3 separate regions of the Homo sapiens genome follow, and all the other regions are linked to region 3. The links are contacts of gene promoters, found by promoter capture Hi-C in blood cells and fetal thymus (Javierre and others, 2016). All regions are on one chromosome and are shown on one strand. Each heading gives the region's core, a stretch centred on a gene start or on the middle of the fragment in contact. The rest is flanking DNA. Distances are from core to core; before and after follow the strand shown. Region 1 holds the start of TWSG1 (twisted gastrulation BMP signaling modulator 1). Region 2 holds the start of RALBP1 (ralA binding protein 1). Region 3 holds the start of NAPG (NSF attachment protein gamma).

The links. Contacts are between HindIII fragments. The CHiCAGO score rates a contact against its expected background, and 5 or more counts as called.
Region 1: the fragment with the promoter of TWSG1 here is called in contact with the fragment with the promoter of NAPG in region 3 in 4 of 17 cell types (non-activated CD4 T cells, fetal thymus, total CD8 T cells and 1 more); the score reaches 10.8 in non-activated CD4 T cells.
Region 2: a contact is called between a fragment that was not itself captured here and the fragment with the promoter of NAPG in region 3, in 1 of 17 cell types (activated CD4 T cells). The highest score is 6.6, in activated CD4 T cells.

What each region holds. Positions count from the first base shown.
Region 1 is chr18:9,333,415-9,336,114 of GRCh38, reverse strand. TWSG1 (twisted gastrulation BMP signaling modulator 1) reads right to left here and starts at 1,342. Exons shown (of 5, transcript NM_020648.6): 1 at 1,195-1,342. TWSG1-DT (TWSG1 divergent transcript) reads left to right here and starts at 1,646. Exons shown (of 3, transcript NR_183523.1): 1 at 1,646-1,978. RefSeq lists enhancers at 742-791, 554-1,054 and a silencer at 852-1,641. The HindIII fragment of the contact is 11,774 bases long and covers 1-2,700 here.
Region 2 is chr18:9,474,790-9,477,489 of GRCh38, reverse strand. RALBP1 (ralA binding protein 1) reads right to left here and starts at 1,977. Exons shown (of 10, transcript NM_006788.4): 1 at 1,799-1,977. RefSeq lists enhancers at 1,347-1,406, 1,145-2,013 and a silencer at 1,637-2,046. The HindIII fragment of the contact is 672 bases long and covers 938-1,609 here.
Region 3 is chr18:10,524,668-10,527,367 of GRCh38, reverse strand. It overlaps NAPG (NSF attachment protein gamma), which reads right to left and starts at 1,341. Exons shown (of 12, transcript NM_003826.3): 1 at 1,210-1,341. The coding sequence starts at 1,265. RefSeq lists a silencer at 949-1,198. The HindIII fragment of the contact is 5,497 bases long and covers 1-2,700 here.

The DNA.
Region 1 (2,700 bases), core at 93-2,592, 1.2 Mb after region 3:
GGCCAAGATATTCTTTTAATTCTATTAGTACCACACATTCTTCAAAGTTATTAAGAAGATACTACAGTTCAAAAAGAAGAAGGAAAAAAGACTAGCACAAACACAGTCTGACAGGGGCCAAACAGTATACAGTTATTAAACTTTAAATACGGGAAGATATCATTTCTTCAGGTTAAAACACCTCCCTATCAAACATAATAAATTAAAATAAATGACTACTGACGTAAGAGGGATAAATAGTGAGTTTATGGGGGCATTTATGATTACTCTAAACTTTTATTCTAAGTGTTACAAAGTACATTAAAGGAAAAATAATAAAAGGGTGAAAAGAATAAAGGGCTTTGGACCTGGTATGAGTCAATTTTGAAAGAGAAAACCCTGGTGATCGTTACTGAGGCTCACAAAGCATTCCCTAAAGACCGTTAGTAACTAATTTTCTAATGTATCTAACGCCGCATACCAAGTAGGATGATTTCTGGAGCAACCAGTACATATTTGCGGAGGCCAAATAAGGTTATTTGGAGACTAACTGTCGTGGAACTAGTTTTCATCCTACAACCATGAAAACTGGGATTTCCCCCCTTTCCCATCTTTTACGGTTGTCTTATGAAATGTTCCACAAATTCATCTTACTCCCCAAATTTCACTGGAAAAAGTATTCAAGTAACTACGACCATGTCGAAATCAGGTAATAGAATTAAAGGACTTATCTTTTCCTAAGGAGTTAGAAACCATCATGCATCAAAATTGTTTCGCATACATCACGCCCAAGTTTCTCGTTAAGGGAGATGGCACTGACAGCGACCAGGGCAGAGCCGAGCCTCTGTAGAGCGGTGCCAGGGCCCCGAAGGCGCCGGACGCCCCGCGAGGCAGAGGCCGGTAGCGGTGTGGGGGACCGGGCACCCGGAACCACCCCCACCCCGGCTCGGCCGACGCGGGCTGCGGAGGACGCGGGCCGGCCCAGAGATGGTCTGGACCAAAGCGGCGCAGAGATGCTGCTGGCTCCCGGCGTCCGGCCTGTGCGCCCGCGCCCAGCACCCCCACTTTGTCCTCCGCGCAGCCGGGCCCAGGCTTCTCCCGGCCCCCGCGAAGCTCGCCGCGGCCCCGGGCCTCTAGAGGGCCGAGCTCGGCGCCCGGCCCCTTCCCAACCAAGAGGCCAAGAGGCTGCACAACCCCCCAGCCGCTCCCACTCACCATGCGCCACGGTCCCGCGAAGTCGCCCACCCCTAGATCCCCGCCGGGTCGGCCGAGCCCGGGGCGCGCTGCGGCGGCTTTGAGTGCGAGGCCAGGCCGCGCCTCCCGCCGTCCCCTCAGCGCAGCGCCCGCGAGCCTCGGGCACCTTAAAGAGACAGGCCCGCCCGCCGCCCTCCTCCCGGCTCCTTGCTCCCCGCCCCTGCTCCCCTCTTCCCCTCCGCCCCCGCTGGGGTCCACAGCCGCCAGCTCCCGCCAGGAGGCGTCTCTCACTCCCCCGGCGCTCCTGTCAGCGCGCACGCCCCCATCTCGGCCCCGCCCACTCCCCCCGCCCCTCCCAACGCCACGCCCCCTCCGCGCCACCCGGTTTCGCCCCTCCCTCGTGCCACGCCTCCACCGCAGGCTCCCGCCCGCCCGCCGGCCCGCAGGCCACGCCCCCAGGCGCACCCACCCCAGCTGCTCAACGCGATTTCCCTTCGCGCTTCTCCGCACCGGGATCCCCAGTCCCTCAGGTTCCGACAGACCCTCCTGTCAGGCCCATTCTCCGGGCCCCCTCAGTTGCAGTGTTAAGATCAACAGTGTTAAGATTAAAGCCTTGTGATGTGCTAGCCACTACGCTGAGGATATGCCGTGTACTAAAATTCCTCAGGACTCCTCACAGCTGCCCTGTAAGGAAGCGGCCATGGCCGGGTTCTAGCGATGCGAGGCCGAGGCTCGGGGCGCTGAGTAGCCTAGCGCGTCGCCGAGGAGAGCTGGCACGTGAACCCCTTGTCGTTTGCCGTCAGAGGTAGGATTTATATAAAATGCGCGTTTCCTAGGTCTACCTCAGACCTACTGAATAAGGATCTCCAAGGGTAGAGCTTTCGAACTTCGTTCACCAATTCGATAAAACTTGCCAGGCTCCTTGTGAGTGGCTGGCGCTGAGCTCTGCATCGGAGCTCTGCATCGGGAGTCGAGAAGAGGGGGCGCCATGGATCCGGGCGCGGAGGTCGCGCAGCCTAGGTAGAAGGTGCGCGGTTAGCACGTAGGTTAAAAACATTGAGAATGACACTCAGTTCTTTCCCACAACTCTGGGTTGCTTTTTTTTTTTTTTCTTTTGAGACAAGGTCTCACTCTCACCAGGCTGGAGGGCAGTGACAACATCAGGCTCGCTGCAGCCTCCACCTCCTAGGCTCAAGCAATCCTCCCGCCTCAGCCTCCCGAGTAGCTGGGGCTACGGGCGCGCACCACCACGCCTGGCTAATATTTTATTTTTTTGTAGATATGGAGGTCTTGCTATGTTGCCCAAGCTGGTTTCAAATTTCGGGGCTCAAGCGATCCTCCCACCGCGGTCTCCTAAATCGTTGGGATGACAGGTGTGAACCATAGTGCCCGGCCGGAATTTGCTTTTTAAAGAAGATTCCAGGGTGATTAAGTTAGAGCCCGCTAGACCAGACCGTCCGCGGGGCACCTTCCCTTGGAAATGATGACCTAGTGTCAAACCCTTATGCTGGTAAATCGTAAATGCCT
Region 2 (2,700 bases), core at 24-2,523, 1.0 Mb after region 3:
TCAGGGATCTTTCAAAACAGAAACAATATTCTTTTGGGTTACATGCTGGGCCCGATCTCTTCTTGCCAAGCAAACAACTATGCAAATATAACTGTACAAATTAAAGTTATTATGCACTTTCTGATACCACTTTCCTATTCTAAATTAGGGGAGAAATAGTCTGGATAAGATCCATAATTAGAAACAATATCCTGAAGAGAAAGCAAACTAAGTTGTATTACATTGTTTCGAGATACCTTGTTTAAAGAGTCACTTCTCAAAAGCTACTACTGTTGGCAGGGCGCGGTGGCACACGCCTGTAATCCCAGCGCTTTGGGAGGCCTAGGCGGGCAGATCACCTGAGGTCGGGAGTTCAAGACCAGCCTGACCAACATGGAGAAAATGTCTCTACTAAAAATATAAAATTAGCCGGGCGTGATGGCGCATGCCTGTAATCCCCTCAGGAGGCTGAGGCAGCAGAATCGTTTGAACCCAGGAGGCAGAGGCTGTGGTGAGCTGAGATCATGCCATTGCACTCCAACCTGGGCAACAAGAGCGAAACTCTGTCTCAAAAAATAAAAAACTAAAAAAAAAAAAAAAAAGCTACTGTTAACTAACCTACCCCACTTGGATCTACCAGATACTTTGAATGAGAGGTGGAAACCACTCTACTGACCTCCTTCCTACCCCTACTACCGCCACTCCAGCTTACAGTAATTATTTTCACAAAGACAGAAAGGAGTTATCAAATGACCACAATAACTCTAAAAACAGAAAGTGAGGTGATCTTTCTTATTCACAGTCCCACTTATTCATTTAGAAATGCTGAGCACCAAAACAAAACCTTATCACAAGTTCAGTATTTCGTTAATAACTGCCAAGTATAATGGAATACTCCCCAAAGTACTGCAGCATTAGAACATGACCACTCCACTAAATTAAAAATTCAGCGAAAGCTTTTCTAACAAGGCTGGATGGAGCACTAACTCAACGGCCAAACGGCTGCACTTCCTGTATATGCACGTTCAAAACACCTCGAATTAACATGCTAGGGACCTTGAAGAATTGTACTAGGCCTTGCTCAAGAGGAAGGCTTTGTAATACTGAATCCCAAAACTTGAAACAGCAGAATTACTTCAGGGAAGACGGAGGTGTTAAATATTCTGTAAAACCTGTTTCACTCTCACAACGATCAGTTTTAAAAAAAAGAGGGAGAACACTGACCTCATTAAGAGCATTCTGACAACACACATAGTTGAACATGAGTTGTGAAAAGAATTTTCAACTTCAGATCTGTCTGTCCATTCCCACTGAAACCTGAAGGAAGGATCGCAGCACCCAAAGGCGCCCACTGCTCAGTGCCAGCGGTGGGCGACACCAGGAGCCTGTCCTGGTCCCCTGGGTAAGCCCTGGAGCCTGGCCACTATGCCGGGCACGATCCACCAACCGTGAGGGCTGGGTCCCCTAGCCTCTGTCCAGGCGCCCCCCAAGAGCTTCCCCGAGGCCTGGGGACTCCTAACTCTCCACCCCCGGCCCCCGAGAGCACCACAAACGAGGACGCCACGAAGGGAGGCCCGTCGGCCAGTGGGAGGGACGCACGGCCAAGGGGGGCGAAAACTGGGGCGAAGCTTTCCGGGGAGGAACCCACGCCAGGGGCAGCCACGCCCCCCACCCCCAACTTCAAACCCGAGCGCTGCGAGCACCGAGCCCCACACGCTGCCTGACAGACGCGGGCGCGAGGCCGGCGCGGGAGAGGGTTCCTCGGGCACTCCAGGGGTATCGCCGCGACCCTAGCACGCGACCGCTCCCTGCGACTGACCTGTGCCTGCCGCCGCGCGACCGTCCGCCCCGCCGCAGCCTCCGCCTCCTCGCGCTCACGCTGCCGCCGCAGCCACCGGAGCCGCCTCCTGCGCTGCGCCCCAGGCCGGCCTCGGGCGCCCCATTCCCACCCCGCCCAGCCTCTGCCTGTTTACAATGATTGGGACGGAACGGGACGAGGCGGTCCAGCGCGCACGCGCATTCCCTCCTCCCGCCGCAGCCGGCTTCCCGGATCCTCCTCTCCGCTCAGACGGCTGAAGCCGTCAAGGGCAGGCGACCTGGGCTCTCGCGCGGGGCGCGCTGGGAGGCGTAGTTCCCAAGGCCCCGGCGTCCAGCCAGCCCGAAGGCCTCTCGCCAAGGAAGCAAACTACAACACCCAGGAGGCACCGCGCCCCCTTCGTCCCCAGGCTCGCTGAGGAGACTGAAGAAGAGCGCGAGAGAACGCGCCGAGGGCCAGTGCTCTGCAGGCGCCTGCGCAGTCGGTGGCCTTGCGGGTTTCGGGGACGGACGGCTTACCCCGGTGTGGTGCTGGCGAAGGTGGCTCGCGGGCATCTCCTGCAACGGCCTTGAGGATGGAAAGGGCTTTCCTCTCCACGCTCTGGCCAGCCTGCGCCTCAGCTCCCGAAGTTGAGAGCTTTCCTTGCGCCAGCGTGCTTTAGTCGTTCCAACCAGTTAAACCAGACTGGGGGCCGCCCGGCTGGCCGCTGGGTGGGGCGGCTGCCCCGCCTTCGACTGGGTGTGGGATTGGAGGAAAGAGCGCCGTGGGCCTGTAGGGATAGGCGGGAATAAACCTCTGTCGGGAACATCCACGGAATTCCTGAAGCGGGTGTGGGCTTCTGCAGGGCTTCAGCGCGCCCCCGGCTCAGCAGTTACCGAGCAGCCCCCGAGGAAAGCTGCCCAGTC
Region 3 (2,700 bases), core at 92-2,591:
CCTGTGCAGTTGGGGGCAAGTCGTTATGAGGCTTCCCTGAGTCTCATTTCCTCTTACGAAAAATTAGAATCTCTATTTGGAAAGTTATTGTGAAGATCTCAGCTTATGAAATTATGTATGTGAAGCACCCACCACAGAGCACAATGCTGACTTTTTCTTTTCTTTTTTTTTTTTTTTTTTGAGACGGAGTCTCGCTCTGTGGCCCAGGCTGGAGTGCAGTGGCGCGATCTCGGCTCACTGCAAGCTCTGCCTTCCGGGTTCAGGCCATTCTCCTGCCTCAGGCTCCCGAGTAGCTGGGACTACAGGCGCCCGCCACCACGCCCGGCTAATTTTTTGTATTTTTAGTAGAGACGGTTTTCACCGTGTTAGCCAGGATGGTCTGGATCTTCTGACCTTGTGATCCGCCCGCCTCGGCCTCCCAAAGTGCTGGGATTGCAGACGTGAGCCACCGCGCCCGGCCCACAATGCTGACTTTCTATTAACTGTAACTGCCAGATAAAAATGCACTGGAGTAATGAAACGGGGGGAAGAGGCTGCCAAAAGGATGAATTAAGGATTATCAGTTCAGTCCCACAAACATTTGCAGGGTGCCTACTACGTACTGTACCAGAGGTGGCAGGACATACACATCAAAGGACGAACGAAGCACAGTCCCTGCCCACAGGGACAGTAAAATGCCAGATGACAAAGGTTCACCGAGGAGTTTTTGGGGTAAACCTATGGTCCCCTCCACACAGGGGGCTCTTCTAGGGCGGTGGTTCTCAACAGAGCGATGTTGTTCCCCAGATGACATTTTGGGTTGCCACAAATGGGGAAGAGATGCGACCGGCACCCAGCAGGTAGAGGCCAAGGATGCTGCTAACGAGCCTCCGATGCACAGACAGCCCCCACCACAATCTTCAGGAGCAGAGCGCCCAAGTAGAGAAGCCCTCGCCCCGCAGCACTGCGCCGAGTCCCCGCCCACACCGGCTCTGGGGAGCGGACTTCCGGCGGGGTGGACCCACGGCGCTTCCCGAGGCGCCGCAGAGCTGACCCCGACCCCGGGAGTGTGACCCAGAGGACACCGAGCCCCGGCAGCCCTGCGGGCACCAGCGCGCCGAGGCCCCTCAGCCCTGAGCCCTCCCTCCCGCCCCCCCCGGGTGCTAAGGCCGCGCCAGTGAGAGACGGACCCGGCGTCTACACACAGGCCCCCGGAAGGTTCTCACTCACTATTTCTCTGCTTTGGCGAGGTGTTCCAGCCCCTCGTTTATCTTCTGAGCCGCCATCTCCACAGTCAGGTCTCTGACGTGGAGAGAGGGTGACCCTGCCTCTTCCTCCGGCGCCAAGAATCCGCCCAAATAGGCGTGGGAACGCCGAGGAGGAAGCTGGTGCAGCGCGACAGTCGAGCGGCTACGGAGGGCCGGAGGGCCCAAGCCGCTGCGACGAAGCGGGGCTGGGAGCCTGCCGGTGCGCCCCGCAAAGAGACATTGCGCAGGCGCAGCGCGTCAAGGCTGGCCCCACCTAGGGCATCTAGCGCAGGCGCGGTGAGATACTGATGGGGCGTATTCTTTCATTCAATATTTGCAAAGCACCTAATATGTGTCAGGCACTATTTTAGATGCGGGAAGATCAGCAGACAAAAACTCCCGCCCTCTTGAAGTCTTGCTTTTTCATTAATGTGAAACTGCTGTGGATCCTGTTTGTAGGGTTAATTGGCTTTATAATTTATTACATCTGAAGTTTCTCTGTATGACAGATAGAATAGTATTCTTCTATCCATTCTGCCTTTTGGGTATTAATTGTATGTCAGTCAAGAAACGAAACAGACTTGTAAACCCTGATTACTGTCAAATAATCCGCGCCCAACCCAAATAATCGCTCTAATATTTCAAGCCGTGATAAGTGCTCTAAATGGGAAGTTGAGGGATCTAAAGTCGCGTACAGTGGTCTGGTAAAAATAGTAACCAGTAATACAGTTGGCTTCATTCATAATTCATGGTGATTTCAATATCCACATGGATGATTCCTGCAATGACTATACAGCCTCTCAGCTTCCAACCTCCTGTGATCTTTCCCACACTAGCGCAGCCACACATTCCTGGGATCACACCCTTGACCTTACTCATAACTGTGTACCCTCCGTAGTGTCAGTTTCAAACAGCTCACTTTACTTCCCCTTTCCATTCCAGCTCATACCTCCTAGTGCTAGTAATTACTTAACCTTCACCAGATTCCTCACCTTTCCCTATCCCTCTGCTCTTACACGTCCTTCTTTTCCCAGCATAAATTCATGTCCCATCATTTTAGTGCGTATACTCTCAACGGCCTTGGCTCCCTCTCCCTCCTTTCTCCAAGCCAGGAAAAACCCCAGCTCTCCACCTACTCTGGAACTGCTCTTGAGCAAGTGAATTTGACTGGAAAAAAACAAACGAGGATGCTAACATTACTCATTTTAATGATCATAAACATTAAGCCGACCTTTGGTGCTGCTGAGCAACTCTCCTATGTTTCCATGGTCAAATCACTCACCCACTCACTTGGAGGGCTGTTCACACCTTCCTTCTCAAAACTCCTACACAATCTCTGCTTGCCTGCCAACTCTCACTTATTGTTGAATATGAAATAACTATTCGAAGAGTTCTTCCCTTTGGCCTCACCACACAATCGATCGATCTTCCTGCATCTATTTGCCAATCAATATTTTGCATTTTTTCTAGTGCC